3 separate regions of the Homo sapiens genome follow, and regions 1 and 2 are each linked to region 3. Evidence: promoter capture Hi-C in 16 types of primary human blood cells and fetal thymus (Javierre and others, 2016). All regions are on one chromosome and are shown on one strand. Each heading gives the region's core, a stretch centred on a gene start or on the middle of the fragment in contact. The rest is flanking DNA. Distances are from core to core; before and after follow the strand shown.

Evidence for each region. The method cuts DNA at HindIII sites, captures the fragments that hold promoters and counts their contacts. A CHiCAGO score of 5 or more calls a contact.
Region 1: a contact is called between a fragment that was not itself captured here and the fragment with the promoter of CFAP100-DT in region 3, in 1 of 17 cell types (M2 macrophages). The highest score is 5.7, in M2 macrophages.
Region 2: a fragment that was not itself captured here is called in contact with the fragment with the promoter of CFAP100-DT in region 3 in 3 of 17 cell types (endothelial precursors, megakaryocytes and M2 macrophages); the score reaches 10.7 in endothelial precursors.

Annotation. Positions count from the first base shown.
Region 1 is chr3:126,239,645-126,243,751 of GRCh38, reverse strand. The region is part of intron 1 of LOC124909426 (a long non-coding RNA gene); the gene reads right to left. Among named protein-coding and RNA genes, the nearest start is that of ALDH1L1, 61 kb to the right of the region's middle. The HindIII fragment of the contact is 5,873 bases long and covers 1-4,107 here.
Region 2 is chr3:126,259,971-126,263,931 of GRCh38, reverse strand. No RefSeq gene overlaps it. Among named protein-coding and RNA genes, the nearest start is that of ALDH1L1, 81 kb to the right of the region's middle. The HindIII fragment of the contact is 4,010 bases long and covers 380-3,961 here.
Region 3 is chr3:126,393,201-126,397,193 of GRCh38, reverse strand. It overlaps CFAP100-DT (CFAP100 divergent transcript), which reads left to right and starts at 2,396. Exons shown (of 2, transcript NR_103789.1): 1 at 2,396-2,895; 2 at 3,901-3,993. It overlaps CFAP100 (cilia and flagella associated protein 100), which reads right to left and starts at 2,285. Exons shown (of 17, transcript NM_182628.3): 1 at 2,216-2,285; 2 at 1,145-1,252. The coding sequence starts at 1,193. The HindIII fragment of the contact is 2,207 bases long and covers 1,895-3,993 here.

The DNA.
Region 1 (4,107 bases), core at 925-3,424, 150 kb after region 3:
TTCAGCTGGGGACTGTCAGAGAGAAGATCAGCCACTGGACGGCCAAACTCCAGGGGAAGATCATCTTCCCACTTCATCCCCTCTCCAGCTTCCTATCCATCCCACTGAGAGCCACCTCCATCACCCAGTAAAATCCCCACATTCACCATCCTTCAAGTCCATGTGTGACCTGATTCTTCCTAGATGCTGGACAAGGACCTGGGTACCAAGAAGGCACTGAGCTGGTTAACACTTAAGCTGTCTGCAGACAGTAGGGCTAAAAGAGCACTGTACCATGCCCACTGGGGCTTTGAGAGTCACTCCACATGTCTAGGCAAACATCCCTAGATGCCACTGTGGGTCTTAAGCCCAAAAGCACTCACCCTGGCTCCTGCACCTGCCCATCTGCATGCTCCCCCTCCTGTAAGGGGTCTGAGTAGTGGCAGCGGCTGAACAGATGAGCCACACCCCTGTTGTACATCCTGCAAGTGGGTCAGGGAACTCTTTCATTCTGGTATTTTTCTTTTAAAAAAAAATTAACCTCTTGGTTTCCAGTATTAATTAATAAGTTCTTTCTTGCCCTCTAGGGTGGTCATGTAATCTTATAGATTTTTTCTTGCAGTATTTCCATTATTTTGCTTCTTAAGTTTAAGTCATTAGTATATTTGGAATTTAATTTTGTATATGGTATAAGATGAGAGTCCAATGTAATTGTTTTGCAAATGGACAGCTGGTTGTGCCAGTACCGTTCATTAAACAATTTCCCATTTTCCCACAAAATTGAACAACGATCTCTGTCATATGTGAAAATTCTACGTCTGTGTATACACACATACACATATATATGTATGTATATTAGGATCTTACTTGCTGTTTCATTGACCCATTTGTCTCTTCCTACATTAAGGCCATATTGTCTCAATGACTACGGTTTTACCCTATGCCTTTGTTCCTAGTTAGGCAAATCTTCTCATTGTTATTGATCTATTTTATAACTTTCATTTGCCATCCTTGGTATCTGTTTTTCCCCATAAACTTTAAGATCATCTTAACCAATGGAGAGAAAAATGTTGTTGGGATTCTTGCTAGAATTGCACTGATTTTTAATATTAATTTTAGAACAATTGGCATTTTGATGCTATTCAGTTTTCCCATTCAAGATTATGGTTGTTTTCTATTAGTTCGGTTCTTGCTTTATGCCTTTCAATAAGGTTTATTAATTTTCTTTATAGTTTCTATACTTTTCTTATAAGTACATTCCTAAATTTTTGAAACTTTTTAAGAAAAAGAGTAGTTTTATTTAATATCACATTCATCCATCTTAAATGTTCTTATTCCACCCAGAAGATTTTTATAACAAGTTTATTGAGGCATAATTTACCTACTAAAAAATGTACTCATTTAAAATGTACAACTTATAACTTTCAGTAAATTTACAGAGTTACACAAACATCACTCCAATCCAGTTTGCATTTCCTCATTCCCAACTCCAGTCTAGACAAGCACTGATTTGCTCTCTGTCTCTACGGTGTTGCCTCCTTAATAGGTTATTGGTTTTCTATATATAATTGTATCATTCTGAGCAGAGGTTATTTTATCTCTGCCTCCAATATTTATTAGTCCATTTTCATGCTGCTGATAAAGACATACCCAAGACTGGGAAATTTACAAAAGAAATAGGTTTAATGGACTCACAGTTCCACATGGCTGGGGAGGTCTCACAATCATGGCAGATGGTGAAAGGCATATCTCACATGGCGACAGACAAGAGAAGAATGAGAACCCAGTGAAAGGGGTTTCCCCTTATAAAACCATCAGCTCTCATGAGACTTATTCACTACCATGAGAACAGAATGGGGGAAACCACCCCATGATTCCATTATCTCCCTCTGGGTCCCTCCCACAACACGTGGGAATTATGAGAGCTATAATTCAAGATGAGATTTGGGTGGGGACAGAGCCAAACCATATCACAATGCTTATAGAAATTATTCCATGTTCTTATTTCATTGCATTCACTACAACTTCCAAGACAATGTTGAATAATGGTGAGAATGAGTATCCCTCTGTAGTTAATGGTTTAATTAAAATGATGTTAGTGTTTTGTAGTTCAAAATAATACTTGCTGTTAATTTTGGTGGACCATCTTTATTAAGTAGTTTTCCTTGGTTCCTGGAGTTTTTATTAAGAACAACTGATAAATTTGGTTAACTGCATTTTCAGCTTGTGCTAATAAAATAATGCTTTTATTTCTTAGGTTTTCCTGATATTAAGCCACTTTTTCATTGTTGGAATAAACCCTGCTTGATAGTGTACCATTTTTTGAAACATTACTGATTTGTTTCACTAATGTTTTATTTAGAATTTTTACATCTATATTCAGAAGTAAAATTGGTGTATAGATTTCTTATATTTCTTTTATACAATTTGGGTGTTAGAGCTGCTGACTTGTTATAATGAATAGGAAAATTTTCCCTTTTTATGTAGGTTGACATAGTTTAAATAGCACCAGAATGATTTGTTTATTGATCCTACCTGGCTCTGGTGCCTTATTCAAGGGGAGATTTCCTATCACATTCTCAGTCTCTTCTATGGTGGTTTTCTATTCAACATTTCCACTTCATTTGTATGAAGTTTTATAATTTATTTTTTTCTAGGAAATCATTCATTTCATCTAGATTTTGAAATTTGTGCCATGGGTGTATATTTAGCTTTCACCTATAATTATTTTTCTCTCTCCTGTGACTATCTTCTCTTATTTTTATTTCTATTTTATGTTTTAATAATTTTATCTTTAAATTAAATTTTTTTGTAGCGATAAGGTCTCACGATGTTACCCAGGTGTTCTCAAACTCCTGGCCTCAAGTGATTCTCCCACCTTGGCCTCCAAAAGTGCTAGGATCACAGGCATGAGCCACCATGCCTGGCCTCATCTTTTATTTTTACCAATTCTCTCTTCCTTATTTCTTCTGTTTTCTGGAGTTTACAGCTGAGTCCTTCCTTACTTCCTTCATTTTCTGATGTTGTTATGAAGTGCTCCCCTTTGGGTTGCTTTTCTTTTAGTCTGCACTCTTTATTCTGACCACCCCCATGATTCAAGTTCAGCTGGGAGCACGTTTTTTAACATATATATATATATATAACTTTTGGTCCTATTTTTATTAGCTGTTTCTAATATTATTGAATCCTGATCAACAAAATTTCTTTTTATTTTTGGACACAAGGATTTCATGGTAAATTCCTTTAAATGTTTAAGGGATATAGAAAAAGTACATTCTCCCTTCTAGAGATGTAAGATTATTTATCTATATAAATAGACACACAAGGATGCAACACACACATATGTATGTATAATCACATTTGATTCCTCTTTTTATTTAAAAAATTGAGATGAAATTCATATAGCATAAAATTCAACATTTTATACAGTGTACAATTCAATGGCATTTAGTATGTTTAGTACAAGTTTCAAAACATTTTCATCATCCCTAATAAAACCATGTACCTGTGAGCAGTCACTTCTCAGCTGCTCCACACTCCCAGCACCTGGCCAAAACCCATTTGCTTTCTGTCTCTATAGATTTGAATATTCTACCTGATATGGTTTGGCTGTGTCCCCACCCATATCTCATCTTGAATTGTCGTTCCCATAATACCCACATGTCCTGGGAGGGACCAGGTGAAAATACTTGAATCATGGGGGAGGTTTCCCTCATCCTGTTCTTATCCTAGTGAATTAGTTCTCGTGAGAGCTGACGGTTTTATAAGGGGTCTTTTCCTGACCTCTGCTCTACATTTCTCCTTGCTGCCATCATGTGAAGGACATTTTTGCTTCCCGTTCCATTATGATTGTAAGTTTCCTGAGGCCTTCCCAGCCCTGCAGAACTGTGAGTCACTTAAACCTCTTTCCTTTATAAATTACCTAGTCTCAGGTATGTCCTCCTAGCAGCATGAGAATGGGCTAATACAGTAAATTGGTACCAGGTAATGGGGTAATGCTGTAAAGATATCTGAAAATATGGAAGCAATTTTGGAACTGGGTAACAGGCAGAGGTTGGAACAGTTTGGAGGACTCAGTAGAAGACCAGAAAAATGTGGGAAACTTTCGAACTTCCTATAGACTTAGAG
Region 2 (3,961 bases), core at 1,135-3,634, 130 kb after region 3:
TGGCAAGCTCCAGTCTACAAAGTCCATCTCCAAACGCCATCTCATCTTGCGAATGCAGTGCCATCACCTCCATTGCAAGGATGAAGTCATCCAGGACCAGAAGATGCACCTGGCTGGCCAACGTCAAATAATGGATTGACGGAAGGGGCCGGAGTTAACCAGAACAAGATGCCCCAAGCAAGAGCCATGTCTCCATGGACATTGCCGGGCCGGCCTTCTTTCATTTCTCCTCCTTGGAGGCAACACAGGTAGGGAGCCACCCCAGGGCCCTGGCACCACTTCTGTGCCCAGCACTGGGGCTAGGATGATGCACTTGAAGATGAGAGGTCACTCCCTGCCGTGAGCGTCTTAGGGCCTCTAGCCTCATCCCTTCCAAGCTTCTCCATGGATAGAGACCCAACCTGGGATCCTGCTTTCCAGGAAGGTCTGCCTCTTTCTCCCAGTACCCAGGGTCTGGATCCTCACACCCTGGGGTGACAGGGCCCACTTATAAGAAGGAGCTGCCTGTTAGGTGTGGCATGTCCCCACATCTTCAGTACTCTGTAAGTCTCTTTCCCTCCCCTAATTTCATGAGGTGGCCCTAGTGCCACAATCTTGTCTCTTCTACACAGATGCTGTGTAGATGGTGTGAGCCCAGAATTGGGCACAGACATTTTGGGTGGATTCTAGTTTGTGTTGACCTGAAAGCAAGGGGCCAGGAGGGGCATGAGCGTGGCAGGACTCAAGCCAACTCACTCTACCTATGCACAGATGGAAAAAAGGGGACATACCAGAATTCCTCTTGGGACAACACTGTATTTATTTGGAAGAAATAACACCTCTGGGGCTGGGGCATCTCTAGGGCTTGCCCAAGTCATGGAAGTTGGTTGATAAGGCCCTTCCAAGGAGGGCAATCCTCTTAATGCAAGCATTGTGCACTTATGGGAGCCATGATAGATGCGGGAATGATTGTTAAAGCAGAGACCAGAGTGGAACTGAATTGCTCTGCATAATAGAGGGAAGTTCCTCCTCCTGAGGAAGAAGAGGAGGAAGAGGAGGAGGAAGAGAAGGAGGAGGAGAGACAAAGGGGGCTAGTACTGCCTGGAGGGAGTAGGAAACATTCGATGGTACCAAGGGAGTTAGGAAATGCTTACGGGGATCTGAAACGAAGGTGAAGTGTTCAATACACACCCAATTCCCTTCCCCTGCAAAATATGCATTTAGGCTTACATCATTTCTAGATGCTTTGTCCACTTGGTTATTCAGTGCAATGGGTGGGGGAGATCTGAAAGGGTGCTGCCTTTTCAATTTTGGTTGACCTATGGTTAAACCTTGAGATGCTGATGGTAAGCCCTCTGTGTGGTCTGCAGATGAGGCTAAATCCCAGGCCTAGTGTGTGCAGCCGACCTGTGCACTGCATGCTGCCCTGGCCACACCTTGAAGGAAACTCTGTCATCTATCTCCTCTGTGACTTTAGACAACTTCGCTGTCCTCTCTGAGCCTCAGTCTACTCATCTGTAAAATGGGGAGTGCATTAGTTTCCTGCTGCTGCAGTAACAAATAGCCACAAACTTAGTGGCTCCAAACAACACACACCCACTCTCTAATGATTCTGGAGGTCAGAGGTCTGCGGTGGGTCTCACTGGGCTGAAATCAAGTTGTTGACAGGGCTGCATTCCCCCCTGGAAGCTCTGTTTCCTTCCCTTTTTCCCTTCTAGAGGCTGCCTGTACTCCTTGGCTTCTGGCCCCTTCCTCCACATCACCTCATTTCCACTGGCTCGCCTGCCCTGCTTTTTCATATTTAAGGACCTTGTGTCCACCCGGGTCATCCAGAATGATCTGCCTACCTTAAAGTCAGTTGCTTGGCAACCTTAATGCCGCCTGCAAATTTTATCTCCCTTTGCCATGTAAGGTGACATATTCCCAGGTTAGGGAGATCAAGACATGGACATTGCTGAGGGGCTGTATTCTGTTTCCCACAGGGAGGAGAAGTGAACCAACAGCAAAGTGTTTCTCAAACACAAGAGAGAGAGTGCAATGTTAGCTTGGAGAGGGCTGGACTCATCAGGTGATGCTGGGTAGAAAGGAAAAGCAGACTCCATCTACAACGACAGCTGAAGGGAATGACAATATTGTCAGCAGATGCTAGGGCAAGGACACGCCTCGGCAGTAGATAAGCCAGCTGGGACACGGGCTCAGGAAAAGGGGTGGAGGTCCCTGAACTGACTGGGATTTTGGTTAAATTAAAATAGAAAACGGAGACAGATTAATTTGAGCAACAAATTGCATTAAAATGACATGCGCACCTTTGTGGGCTAAAACTCATCCTCACTGCATATAGGTCTTTGGTTTGTGGAAACAAATCTAAGTTTGAAATGTGAACATCTTCTAGCTTATTTTATTTTATTTTGCCTTATATTTTGAGCACAGGCCTGGATTTGGGGGCATTCAGCTTGGGGGTCCAGAGGGCTCATCCTAGAGAAGCTATGGAGAGCCGATCTTCATGGGCCTTTTCTGCTGGGGCCTTGCCTGGGAGCCCCTGGCTCTGAGACAGGGTGGCCCAAGCTGGGCTTGGCGGGAGTGAGGGGGGCACGAGAGGAAGTGGCGGTGGCCACATGCTAGTGGCTGGAAAGAAAGCTCTGACAGCTTGGGCCTTGCTCTTGGCAGGAGGGTCTCAGACCCCCCAGCCCCACCTTGCCCGCCAGAGAACAGTTACTCAAGAGGCAGCAGAAAGCCCTGGGGTGTGCTGAGTTTTGTGTTGGCCGGGCCACTGAGATGATGCAACTCCACTCTGCATTGTGCAATGAGATGAAAGGGCCACCAGGGAGGGCGCACACACAGGGGCTTTGCATCAGCCACACATTGAACTGGGTCACAATCAGTTATACACACAGACAGTCTAAGATTCAGAGGAAAAGGAAGACATAAAACTCACACCCTGAGAGCCCAGGAGAGACCAGTGAAAAGGAGGAGGAGGGGGAGAAGGAAGAGGAGGGAGGGAGGAGGGGGAGAAGGGAGAGGAGAGGAGGGGGAGAAGAAAGAAGGGGAAGTAGGGGGAGGAAGAGGGGAAGGGGGAAGAGATGGGGAGAAAGAAGAGGGAAGGAAGGAGAGGAGAAGGAAGATGAAGAGAGGAAAGAAGGGTGGGGAGGAGGGGGGAGAAGAAGGGGGAAACGGGAGAAGGAGTGGGAGAAGAACAGGGAGGAAGGGAAGAAGAAGGAAGGGGGGATAGAGGAAGGGGAGGCAGGAAGAAAGAGAGGGGTAGGGGAGGAGGAGATGTGGAGAGGAAAGAGGGGGAGGGAGAGGGGGAGAAGAAGGGGAGGAAGAGGAGAGAGGAAGGGGAAGATTACAGGAGGGAGGAGGTTAGGCAGGAGGAGGGGAAGGAGGAGGAGGGGAAGAAGATGGGGGGAGGAGGAGAGGGAAGAGGGAAGGGAGGAGGGAGAGGAGGACAAGGAGGGTTTGGGTTAAGGTTAGGCTTGGATTAGGGTTAGGAGGAGGGAGAGGAGGACAAGGAGGGTTTGGGTTAAGGTTAGTCTTGGATTAGGGTTAGGAGGAGGGAAAGGAGGACAGGGAGGAGGGGAGAAGGAAGAGGGGGAGGGGGAAGAGGTGAAGAGAAAGAAGCGAGGAGGGATGGGGAGGAGGAAGAAAAAGATGTGGAGAGGGAAGGGGCTAGAGGGAGGATGGGGAAGAGGAGGAAGAAGAACAGAGGGGGAAGAGGAAGATGTAGAGAGGGAAGAGGGGGAGGGAGGGGGAAGAGAAGGGAGGAAGGGGAAGAATAGAGGAGGGAGGAGGGAGGTAGGAGAGGAAGAGGAAGGAGATGTGGAGAGGGAAGGGGGAGGGAGAGGAAGAGGTGGAGAGGGGAAGAATGGAGGAGGGAGGAAGAGGGGAAAAGGAGGAGGGGAGGAGGGAGGAGGGAGGAGGGAGATGTGGCACTCATGCTAGGTGCTCTGCCACAACGGATGGAAACCTGGCACCTCCTGCCCCA
Region 3 (3,993 bases), core at 1,147-3,646:
ACAAAAAGTATAAGGGAATTCTTGATGTATTGATAAGGAACAGTCTCTACAATGTATGGGTTAATTAAAAAAATCAAGGTGCAGACAGGGTTTTCATTGTGTGATCTCCGTGTAAGAAAAGAACAAACCTCATCTACACACATTTGCCTGTATGTGCACTGAGCTGGTAGCCTAGAAGAGACAGGGGACAGTGGCCATCTCTAAGGAAGGGGCACTGTATGCCTTTGACAGGGTGGGAGAGGCTTTTCACAATGAGGGGCTTTTAACACACTTTTGAATTTTGAACCATGGAATACTATGCCTGGTCAAAACCAAATTAAATTCCAATAAAAAAGCTGAAGGGCCCCAGGTAGGCCTGGGCAGCCTCCCTCAGCGTCGCCCTGTGTGAGATCTTGGCAAATGCATGCAATTCCACTAGGGCAGGCATGTTTCATCCAGGGCCTAGCGCCAGCTGACCACCTCCTTGGAGCCCAGCCTGGCATTTGTGGTCAGAGGGGTGCTGAGAGAAGCTCACCTTCACGGTGACACCTTCCTCATGGTCTGTTGTGGGTTGAACTGTGTCATCCCAATTCGTATGTTGAAGTCCCAACCCCTACTGTCTCAGAATGTGATCTTGTTTGGAAATAAGGTCTTTGCAGCTGTAATTCACTAAGCTGAGGCCATTCTGGAGCGGGGTAGGCCTCCAATCCAATGTGATGGGGTCCCTGTAAAATGGGGAAATTTGGACACAGACACACACAGGCAGAATTCCACATGGGCAGGAAGGCTGAGATGGGAGTGATGCTTCTACAAGCCAAAGAGCACCAAGGATTGCCTGCAAAGCTCTGGAAACCAGGAGAGAGGCCCGGAATGGGTTCTCGCTCAGAGCCCTTGGAGGGACCTAGCCTTTTGGACAACTTGATCTCAGACATCCAGCCCCCAGAGCTTGAGAAAACAAATGTCTGTGACTCCAGCCCCCCAGTTTGTGGTGGTGCTTTGTTACAGCAGCTGCAGGCAATCCATATGCCTTGTTTCAAGGGAAGTAGGCAGATCTATGACTCCTGCCTAGTGTTTGGTTTAGAGCTACCTTAACCTGTGAGGGAGCTGGACAGGCTCCGAAGCTGCCCCTGACCTCTGAGAGTGCCCACCCTGGCCCGGTACTTACTGTCATTGGTCATGTTCTTGGAGACTATAGTGGACGGTATCTCAGACATCTTGGCTGAGGCCCAAGAGGTTGATGCAAGGCTTCTCCTCTTCTAAAGGAGATCCTCACCTGAGGAGTGACACAGTGCTTGAGCCTGGTGGTCCCCAAGCCCAGAGCTTCCTTCCCCCTGGGTGGCTGACAGCCACCGACATTTGCTGAGGGCTCACCTTGTGGGGACACCTGCCGGCTCCCTGCCTCTCCCACCCGAGGGTCCACTCTCACCTCCTGGACTTGGCTCTAGCTGCCTACTTTTTCTGTGCTTAGAACACATCAATCTTGGCCTCAAGCCTTTGCATTTTCGGCCTCCTCGGCCAAAAAATATTCTCCCATACCCAGCTGGGGGTGCTGGGCTTCCTTCTCTTCAATTCCGAGCTCAAATGTCACCTCTTTAGAGAGACCTCTCACCATCCCATCCAAAGTGGTTTCTTCCTCCCCACCCCCATGTGGCCTTTATTTTCTTCTCTGCAATTCCCACTATCTGATTATCACTTTAAAAATCCATTCGTTGTCTATTTCCCCCTAAAATGTGAGCTCCATGAGAACAGGGGGGTCTTTTCTGCTCATCCAAGCTCCTGACATACCCTTGGCACTTCTTAACTTCATCCATTGAATGAATTTTCATTTTTGCAGGGGAGGAAGCAGAGATTCAGCGAGGTGTCCAAAGTCACAGTCAGGAGGGGCTGCCTCTGGAAAGGGCCCCCACTCTAAGCTTGTGCCATTCCTGCCGCATTCCTGCTGCAGCCCCCTATTGGGTGAGCCTGGGGTTCGCAGGGTCGCCTCCTAACACCCGCGCTCTGCAAGGCCCCGAGCCACACAGCGAGGTGCACAGGGATGGTAGGACAGATGGGGTGGATGGTAGATGGGTGTGTTTCAAGCAAGTGGCATGCGAGCGGGCAGCCTTGGAAGGCGCCTTGCAAGTCCGCTCCCGGCCACGCGCGCCCCTCGGGCCCTGGTTTCGCACCCCTGCCGCCGCCCCCACGCGCCCTCACGGACCCCGCGCGCCCCCTCTCCCCGGACCGCGAGCGCACCCACCGACCCCGACTGCCCCGGCTCGCTCCGAAGCCTCCGCGCTGCAGTTCTCAGCTCCAGGAGCAGGGCTCTTGGGTTTACGTCTCCAAGGCAACCATTCTTCAGGCTGGCTGTGACGCCACAAAGGCCGCGGAGGCTGGGCGCTTGAGGGCTGGGCCTGCGGGCCGCGGGACAGGGAGGGCGCGGGGCCGGGCTGCTGGGTCCGAGCTCTGGGCACGATGTCCTCCCTGACGCCGCCAGGACAGCGCCTGGCCCAGGCCTGGGCCTGGTGAACGCGGGTTTCTTCCTCTGAGGTTCAACACTCCGCACTTGGGTTGGCTCCTTTCATCCTGATTGGTTTATTCGCCACGTGCCAAGCACTGAAGAGGGCGTGCAGGATGGATACTTTTGGAGCAAAAATAGCCCTGCTTCTTTCCTGGGGAGGGATCGCACTTTCTAGAGGGGCGGTTTTCAAAGTATGGTCTCAGGACTAGCAGCATCGAAAATGCTGGGAACTCGTTAGAAAAGCAAGTTTTCAATCCTCGCCCCAGAATCAGAAACTCGGGGTGGAGCCCAGCAATGTGTGTCCTGACAAGTCCACGCGCGACCCCAGTGCTGGCTAGGGTTGCAAAGCCACTGCTCTACGGAGCGAGCGAGATCCATCATAGTGGGACAAGCGAGAGGATGAGGCCATACAGACCAGGGCAAGTTTTGAGCGCGCAGATCCACCAGCTGCTTGAAGCCAGGGGCACCAGGATGTCTGGTCCCCCAGCTCAGGGATCCTGTCTCCCCACAAAAAGCAGCAGCAGAAGACCCCTCTTTGAGTTCTGAACATGTTCCTAGATTTTCCCAGTATCTATGGGGATTGAGAGATTGATAAAGGCTGCTTGGAGCTGAAAGCACAGTCAGTGACTCATCTTTTCAGGGACATTTAGGGGCTTCTGGGGGGACTCTGGAGCAGTCTGCAGCCCAGCAATGTAGTCCCAGTGAGGATCCCAGCTGTGCCAGGCTCTGCCTAAGGCCGGTGTAGTGGGTGGGAAGACCACATCCACAACAGGAACTCCATTGGAGCTGGGGGTGGGAGTGAGGAGGAGCTCCCAAGATGGAAGGAGCAGGGATCCCTGAATCTTCGCTGGTAGAATAGTGTCCCAACTTGCAATATCCACAGTGGGCTTTGCACAAGGGAGGAAGAATGTTGTATTGTGTTAAGCCACATATGTGATTTGTGCATGTGTGCATGTGCACATGTGTGCACATGTAGTGTGTGTGTGTGCATGTGTGCACGTGTGTGTTCGTTACAGCTGCTATTGTCAAATGTGCTGAAAGACAAGTTGTCCCTTTACCCTTAGGAGAGAGGCTCCTTACACTGACATTCAAAGTCCTCAATGACCCGGCCCCAGCCTACCTCTGCAGCCTTATCTCCCTACAAACCATCAAAGCAGAACAAAAACCTGTCCCTCCGATTTAGGTTTTAGCAAACCACAAGAAGCACTTCATAAACTGGTGACTCAAGTAGAAAAGTAAGTGTTTTTGTAATGGTTTATCTAAATACAAGGTGCTCTAATGAGACTTTTAGGAAGCTAGAACATAAGTGACCCAAAGAGAACAAAGGTACCCAGGCTCCTGCCCATTCATTGTCATCAACAGATCAGTTTATGAACAGTCGTGAATCTCCCCATGAACCTTACAGAGTGTTTTCTATGTGCCAGGTACTGTTCCACGCACTTGACACCAATCCACCCATTTCACCTGCATGATCACCCTGCCTTTGCATGAGTTGCCGGTGTGGACAGAGCAGGGAC